2 separate regions of the Homo sapiens genome follow, and region 2 is linked to region 1. Evidence: promoter capture Hi-C in human tissues and cell types (Jung and others, 2019). All regions are on one chromosome and are shown on one strand. Each heading gives the region's core, a stretch centred on a gene start or on the middle of the fragment in contact. The rest is flanking DNA. Distances are from core to core; before and after follow the strand shown.

The links. The method cuts DNA at HindIII sites, captures the fragments that hold promoters and counts their contacts. A contact is called where the count stands out against the background at its distance.
Region 2: a fragment that was not itself captured here is called in contact with the fragment with the promoter of WBP2NL in region 1 in 1 of the 25 tissues and cell types used here (dorsolateral prefrontal cortex).

Annotation. Positions count from the first base shown.
Region 1 is chr22:41,997,109-42,000,897 of GRCh38, reverse strand. It overlaps WBP2NL (WBP2 N-terminal like), which reads right to left and starts at 2,110. Exons shown (of 6, transcript NM_152613.3): 1 at 2,018-2,110. The coding sequence starts at 2,079. SEPTIN3 (septin 3) reads right to left here. Exons shown (of 12, transcript NM_001363845.2): 12 at 2,677-3,789. It also overlaps the pseudogene SLC25A5P1. RefSeq lists enhancers at 1-194, 1,529-2,043, 2,044-2,560 and a silencer at 2,158-2,217. The HindIII fragment of the contact is 18,305 bases long and covers 1-3,789 here.
Region 2 is chr22:42,453,381-42,457,367 of GRCh38, reverse strand. No RefSeq gene overlaps it. Among named protein-coding and RNA genes, the nearest start is that of NFAM1, 23 kb to the right of the region's middle. The HindIII fragment of the contact is 8,803 bases long and covers 1-3,987 here.

The DNA.
Region 1 (3,789 bases), core at 861-3,360:
TCAACCTTTTGGTTCACCTTTTGGGTGATTCACCTTTTGGGTTCAAGCAATTCTCCTGCCTCAACCTCCTGAGTAGCTGGGACTACAGACATCCGCCACCACTCCCGGCTGTTTTTTTTTTTTTTGTATTTTTAGTAGAGATGGGGTTTCAACATATTGGCCAGGCTGCTCCTGAACTCCCGATCTTGTGATCCACCCACCTGGGCCTCCCAAAGTGCTGGGATTACAGGCGTGGGCCACCGCGCCCGGCTATCTTGAGCATTCTTGACAGACTCCTCGCTGTCAATTTATCAGTGGCAACTATTCACTGGTTGGAAATGGGAAGCAATAATAGTCATCTGACCAGTTTTCTCTTAAAGCCATTTCTATGATGATGATGATGATGGGACTCAATTATGTTTTTTATTTCAGTCACTCCTAATAAATAACAAATTTGGAGAAATAAAAATATCTTAAGAAAAGAAAAAAGAAAAGAAAAGAAAGGCTTCACACCATGGAATGACAAGTGCTCAAATGGCTCTCAGTAAGTGCTCACGGGGACACCACTGTCAGAGTGGTGAGCAATCATCTACCACAAAATGGAACAAAGCAGCAGAGGTACGTAGGAAGCAGGTGAGAACATACAACCTCTAAGGCCCATATAAATCTGTCAAGAAAACTTTCTGGAGGAAGGAAAGATAGAAGAAAGACCTGGATATCAGCATTTGGTAACGTCTACTTCGATCTTCCTGACAACTACATTCAAACTGACCTGAGTGTGCTGGCCCCAAGCACATCATCCAGCTTGAGTTTCAATGCTGGTTGGGAGAAAAGGAAATTGAGGGCAAGTCAGAGCCCAGAAAGGAGCGCAATTTAGAACTGCACAGCGGGGGAGACTGAGTTTGAGTGTAGGAAACGGGAAAGGGGGCGTGTGGGGTAAAGAGGTGAGCGCAGTGGAGTCAGGCCTTAGTGAACAAGTGTGCTTGAAGGTGGAGATGGGCACCCCTCTGGCTGAGTCTGCTCCAGTAGAGAGCTCAGGGGCCAGCAGCAGGCACCGCAAGGAGCAAAGCAACTGGTGTAAGCCCCACAGCTTCCTGCGACCAACAGTGCTTTGTTGTGCCCAGGCATCTGTTCAGTCCCATCTTTTATTTTAAGACAGGATCTGGCTCTGTTACCCAGGCTGGAGTGCAGTGGTACAATCTGAGCTCACTGCAGCCCAAACTCCTGGGTTCAAGCAATCCTCTTACCATCGCCTCCCAAGCAGCTGGGATTATGGGTGCACACCACCATGGCCCACTAATTTTCTACTTTTTGTAGAGATGGGGTCTCACTATGTTGCCCAGTCTTGTCTCAAACTCCTGGGCCACCTCAGCTTCCCAAACTGTTGGGATAAGAGGCATGAGCCACTGCACCTGGCCTCAATTTTTTCAATTTTGTTTTTAAAAGCAGACATCTCCCTGGTTGGAGCAAGGAGGAAACATGGCTTTAGAAAGTTTCCAGGTCCAAGGAGAAGCCCCACAACAGTTTGAGATCTTTCCAGAATGATCCACACTCGACCTCCTCATCCCTCTTACCAAAGAGCGACACCTTGTTCGTGGAAGTAGGAGGAGATACACACCCAGTACCTGTCCTCATCCAACAAAGTCGCAGGCACCCAAGGGCAGCCACGCTGCCACCGAAGGCCCCCGGCTGCTCACAACCGCCGGTCAGCTCCGGCCTCTCTTCGAAGGACACACGCGTCTCGCACCCCCTCCCCGCCCCGCCCTGAGGAGACATGCGTCTGGGCCCCGCGCCTTGAAAAGGCGCATTCCCACCCCCACCCCTCAAACGCGCGAGGCCACGCGTTCCGGCCTCCGCCACCTCCACATGCCGGAACACCAGTGAGGGGCGCGCGCTCCCAAAGGTCGGGGGCGGAGCTAAGAGCGCCGCGCCCAAAAAAGGCGGCAAAGTCCCTGACTCGCTGAGAGTTTGCGAGCCGCCATGTCTATCTCATTCGTCTCCTCTCCTCCGACAGCACGCCGTGCTTCCCCTCAGGCACCTTTCACCGTTAGGGATGAGGGCTCCGCGGCGGTTCTCGGTGTGGCTCTGATTCACCGCCATCTTGCTTCGGGCCTCCTGCCGCCCCGTAGATGGAAAGGGGCGGGACCTGCGCCGAGCTGTGGGGCGCGGTTCTGAAGGGGAGGGCGGAGATTATGACGTAAGGAGGAGGAGGAGGAGGAGCGAGACCGGGTCACGTGGTGGGGCAGTGCCCGGGGAGCGGGGCGGAGTCAGGGTAGAGGCCCCCGCCGAGAAAGGGGAGAAAGAGGCGGGCCCTGAGAATTGGCTCGAGCGCGAAGGGGTGAGTGATAGGTGAGTGGCCTCCCGACCTCACCTGCCCCCTTAGCCCCCTGCCTTTAGGTATGGACTTGGGTTGGTCCTGTCAGGAATGATCTCAGCTCACTGCACCTCCAACCTCCCATGCTCAAGCCATCTTCCCACCTCAACCTCCCATCCATTACTCACTTTGGTTATGAAACACTAGAAAATAATGACTGAGGCCCGACCTGACGCCAACTGAAGATGAACTGACCTCACAAAGTGTTTTCATCTCTAATATCTGTGGCTATTTCTTACCAAGAGAGTCTCACCCTCCACACATGGGTGAGATGACATAATGGCTGATTTGGTCAAGGAGCACAAATAAGACAGGCCAGGCAGTTACTGTTCAAACAGCAATGTTTAGTTGTACAACACATAAAGTCTAGCAACAATTACAGGACCAGTTTGAGTGTCTGTTTGCTTGTTTTCAATTGGGAAATTTAACTGTAATGTCACCGTAAGATTGGCTGGGACTGGTAACATTTAAGAAACGGGTTGTTCTTGCATCCCCTAGGCGTGGGCCTCTTGCTCCATCAGGACTTGGTTGTAGATGAATGGCCCACAAGTCACCAGCCTTTGAGCAAGTTGTGTCCAGGTGGAGACAGGAAGAGGGTGGGCAAAGGGGAATTCTATAAAGACACAGTGTGTGGGGCAGTGGCAGTCAACATTCGCAAACATTCATGCATCTGATGGGGGGCTTTGCCCTCCCTTGGGTATTTTCCATTAGCCTACAGTGACCACCTGTGGTCAGGCTAATTCATTACTCACATTAATGGGGAAGGGGGTTGGGGGTAGGAGTAGGTAGGGTAGGTGGGAAGAGATCCCTCTTATTGCTGAGTGGACAGAAGGGTGCTAGTTTTTCCTTAGCGTGTACATATTGTGGGTTTCTGGGGGTTTGTGTGTGTGTTTAGTTTTTGTTTGTTTGTTTGGACAGAAGAAAGTCAACTCCAGCAATGTCTTCTTAGGAAAACCACTCTTCCTCAGTGGCTGCGTTATGAGGTGGGGAGGATGTACAACCGCACTCTGGGACAGCCACAAGTGGTGATTTTTTAAAAAGTGATCCTAGCCCTTGCTCCCCAACATCTGTAGTGACCCACCCTCATGAATATCTTTAAGTAATGAAGGAGACACCCTTGTCCCACTTTGGGGCTCACACAGCTGATCTCAATGAATCTAGTAAGCAGAAAAATTGCTTTCTTGACCCTTTAAGGAAGCCAAGAGTAGCTCATGCAGATGAATGGGTAGGGAGCAATGCCATTGCCCTTAGAGATGGTTACAAGTAGCTGGGATGGGCTTACAAGGGCAGAAGGAGCTCTTGATGAGTTCTTTCACCCTGCAGATGGGCTAGGACCGGCTGACGCAGATGATGCAGTAGGGCTGTACTGGCAGAACCCCACTCCACTGGGAGGAGAGGAGTGGTTTGGATAAATGGAGGATGCAACTGGCCTAAAG
Region 2 (3,987 bases), core at 645-3,144, 460 kb before region 1:
ATAATTAAAAAAAAAAAAAATGGCCGGGCGTGGTGGCTCATGCCTGTAATCCCAGCACTTTGGGAGGCCGAGGCGGGCAGATCACGAGGTCAGGAAATCGAGACAATCCTGGCTAACACAGTGAAACCCCGTCTCTACTAAAAATACAAAAAATTAGCCGGGCGTGGTGGCGGGCGCCTGTAGTCCCAGCTATTCGGGAGGCTGAGGCAGGAGAATGGTGTGAACCCAGGAGGCAGAGCTTGCAGTGAGCCGAGATCACGCCACTGCACTCCAGCCTGAGTGACAGAGCCAGAATCAGTTTCAAAAAACAAAAAACAAAAAAAAAAATTCCCAGCAAACTGAGAATAGAGAACTTCTTCAACCTGATAAATAGCATCTACAAAGAAACGTACAGCTAATAATACCACACAACTTGATATGTTGGGTTTTCCTTTTCAGTCAGTTCAAAATACTTTCTGACTTCTCTTTTGACTTCTTTTTTGACCCGTGGATTATTTAGAAGTGTGTTATTTCGTTTTCAAGTTATTTGGGCATTTTCAGAGCTCTTTCTGTTACCAATTTCTAATTTAATTCCATTGTAAGAGAGCATACTTTGAATGACTTGAGTCCCTTTAAATGTACTGAGACTTGTTTAATGTCTCAGAATATTGTCTATGTTGGTAAATATTCTGTGTGAACTTGAGAGGAATGTGTATTCTGCTGTTGTTGGGTAAAGTGTTTTATAAATGTCCATTGGATCGAGTTGGTTGATAATGTTGTTCAAATCTTCTATATATTTGCTGGTTTTCTGTCTATTCATTCTATCAATTTCTATGTATTTATTCAGAGGTGGGATCTCACTATGTTGTCCAGACTAGACTCAAGTCCTGGGCTAAAGTGCTTCTCCTGCCACAGCCTCCTGAGTAGCTGGGACTACAGGTGATACACGGCTATACCCAGCTATTCTATCAATTCTATCAATTATTGAAAGCAGGGTATTGACATCTTCAACTATGATTGTCAACTTTTCCATTTCTCTTTGCTGTTCTATAAGTTTTTGCTTCAAGTGTTTTGAAGCTCTGTTATTAGGTACATAAACGTTTAGAATTGTTATGTCCTCTGGAATAACTGACCCCTTAATCATTATTGAATTAACCTCTTTATCCCTGGTAATGTCTTCTGCTATACAATCTACTTGGTCTGATATTGATAAGCCACGCTAGCTTTTTTTGGATTTGTGATAGCATGGTAGGTATGTCTTTTTCCATCCTTCTACTTTTAACCTATTTGTGTCTTTATATTTGAAGTGTGTTTCTTATAAATAGGATACTGAATCTTTTTTTAATCCAATCTGACAATCTCTGCCTTTAAATTTGGACATTTTCTTTTCTTTCCTTTTTTTTTTTTTTTTAGAAAGGGTCTCACTCTGTCACCCAGGCTGGAGTGTAGTGGTGCGCAATTGTGGCTCACTGCAGCCTTCACTTCCTGGGCTCAAGTGATCCTCCTGCCTCAGCCTCCGCAGTAGCTGGGACTACAGGTGCACACCACCACACCCGGCTAAATATTGTATTTTTTGTAGAGATAGGGTTTCACCATGTTGGCCAGGCCTAGACCATTTACTTTTTATTTTATTATTCATTTATTTATTTTGAGACAGAGTCTCGCTCTGTCACCCAGGCTGGAGTACAGTGGAGCGATCCACCAACCTCTGCCTCCCAAGGTGCTGGGATTACAGTCATGAGCCACCGCATCCAGCCTGAACTCATTGTATTTATTGTAGTTTCTTAAATAGATGGAGTGTGTATGTGGAGAATCAGAAATACACTACTTTTAGGTTCTTTTTTTTGGGAGGGTGGGGAGTGGGGATAGGGTCTTGCTCTGTTGCCCAGGTTGGAGTGCAGTGGCACAATCATGGCTCACTGCAGCCTTGACTTCCTGGGCTCAAGCGATCCCAAGTAGCTGAGACTACAGGCATGTACTACCATACCCAGCTAATTTTTTACATTTTTTTGTAGAGATGGGGTGTCACTGGTCTCAAACTTGTGGGCTCAAGCAATCTACCCTCCTCAGCCTCCCAAAGTGCTGGGATTACAGGCATAAGCCACCGCACCTGGCCAATGTTCTTATGCTTTATATTAAGTAGTATATTGGCTGGGCATGGTGGCTCATGCCTGTAATTCCAGCACTTTGGGAGGCTGAGGCAGGCGGATCACAAGGTCAGGAGATAGAGACCATCCTGGCGAACACGGTGAAACCCTGTCTCTACTAAAAATACAAAAAATTAGCCGGGCATGGTGGCAGGCACCTGTAGTCCCAGCTACTTGGGAGACTGAGACAGGAGAATGGCGTGAACCCGGGAGGCAGAGCTTGCAGTGAGCCAAGATTGCGCCACTGCACTCCAGCCTGAGGGACAGAGCGAGACTGTCTAAAAAAAAAAAAAAAAAGGTAGCATATTATCACTTAAAGGTAGATTGTGATTGGCAGGGCACGGTGGCTCACGCCTGTAATCCCAGCATTTTGGGAGCCCGAAGTGGGTGGATCATGAGGTCAGGAGTTTGAGACCAGCCTGACCAACATGGTGAAACTCCATCTCTACTAAAAGTACAAAATTTAGCCAGGTGTGGTGGTGGACACCTGTAATCCCAACTACTCAAGAGGCTGAGGCAGGTGAATTGCTTGAACCCAGGAGACAGAGGTTGCAGTTCACACCATTGCACTCCATCCTGGGCAACAGAGCGAGACTCTTGTCTCAAAAACAAAAAAAAGAAGGTAGATTATGATTAATTGAAGTTGAACAAAAATCAACTAGGAAATACTTTTTTTTTTTTCTTTTTTGAGACAGGGCCTCACTCTGTCACCCAGGCTGGAGTGCAGTGGTGCAATCTCGACTCACTGCAAACTCCACCTCTCAGGCCCAGGTCATCCTCCCACCTCAGCCTCCCAAGCAGCCTCCAAGCACCTGCACCACCACATCTGGCTAATTTTGTATTTTTTGTAGAGATGGGGTTTTGTCATATTGCCCAGGCTGGTCTCAAATTCTTGGGCTTAGTTGACCTGCCCACCTCAGCCTCCCAAAGTGCTGGGATCGCAGGCATGAGCCGCCGCCCTGGCCTGGGAATTTTTTTTTTTCAATTTAAATTTGATTTAGAACTAAATAAAGCATTTACATGATGGCAAAGTCAAAACTGAAGAACAAGGTGTATTAAAGAGGTCTGCTTCCATCCCCTCTATACTGTTACTGATTTTTTTCCTTGGCGTGGTCTTATTTTTTAGATTTTAGGTTCAAGAGATTCTCCTGCCTCAGCCTCCAGAGTAGCTGGGATTACAGGTGCATGCCACTATGCCTGGCTAATTTTTTGTATTTTTTAGTAAACACAAAGTTTCACCATGTTGGCCAGGCTGGTCTCGAACTCCTGACCTCAGGTGATCCACCTGCCTCGGCCTCCCAAAGTGCTGGGATTACAGGTGTGAGCCACAGCATCTAGTCCCTCCTCCAGACTCTTAACATTGATGCTGCTCTTCTTCTATGACATCATGAGGTGGCAAAAGACACAGGTTCATTGTTAAGGGTCATGTCGACAGCCTGGTGACTAGGCTTATATGCTTAGATTTCCTGAGTATTTTGAGTTCCCCTGGTGTACACAGAAGGGTCACCGTGGTCAGTAACTGATGCTTGCCATGCGCCGGCACCGTGTTGAGTATTTTATAGATGTCTATGACTGTGTAACAGGCCGGGCACAGTGGCTCATGCCTGTAATCCCAGCACTTTGGGAGGCCAAGGTGGGCAGATCTCTTGAGCTCAGGAGTTTGAGACCAGCTGGCCAACATGGTGAAACCCTGTCTCTCCTAAAGATACAAAAAAATTAGCCGGGCATGGTGGCAGATGCCTGTAATCCCAGCTACTTGGGAGGCTGAGGCACGAGAATCGCTTGAACCTGGGAGGTGGATGTTGCAGTGAGCTGAGATTGTGCCACTGCACTCCAGCCTGGGCGACAGAGTGAGACTCCA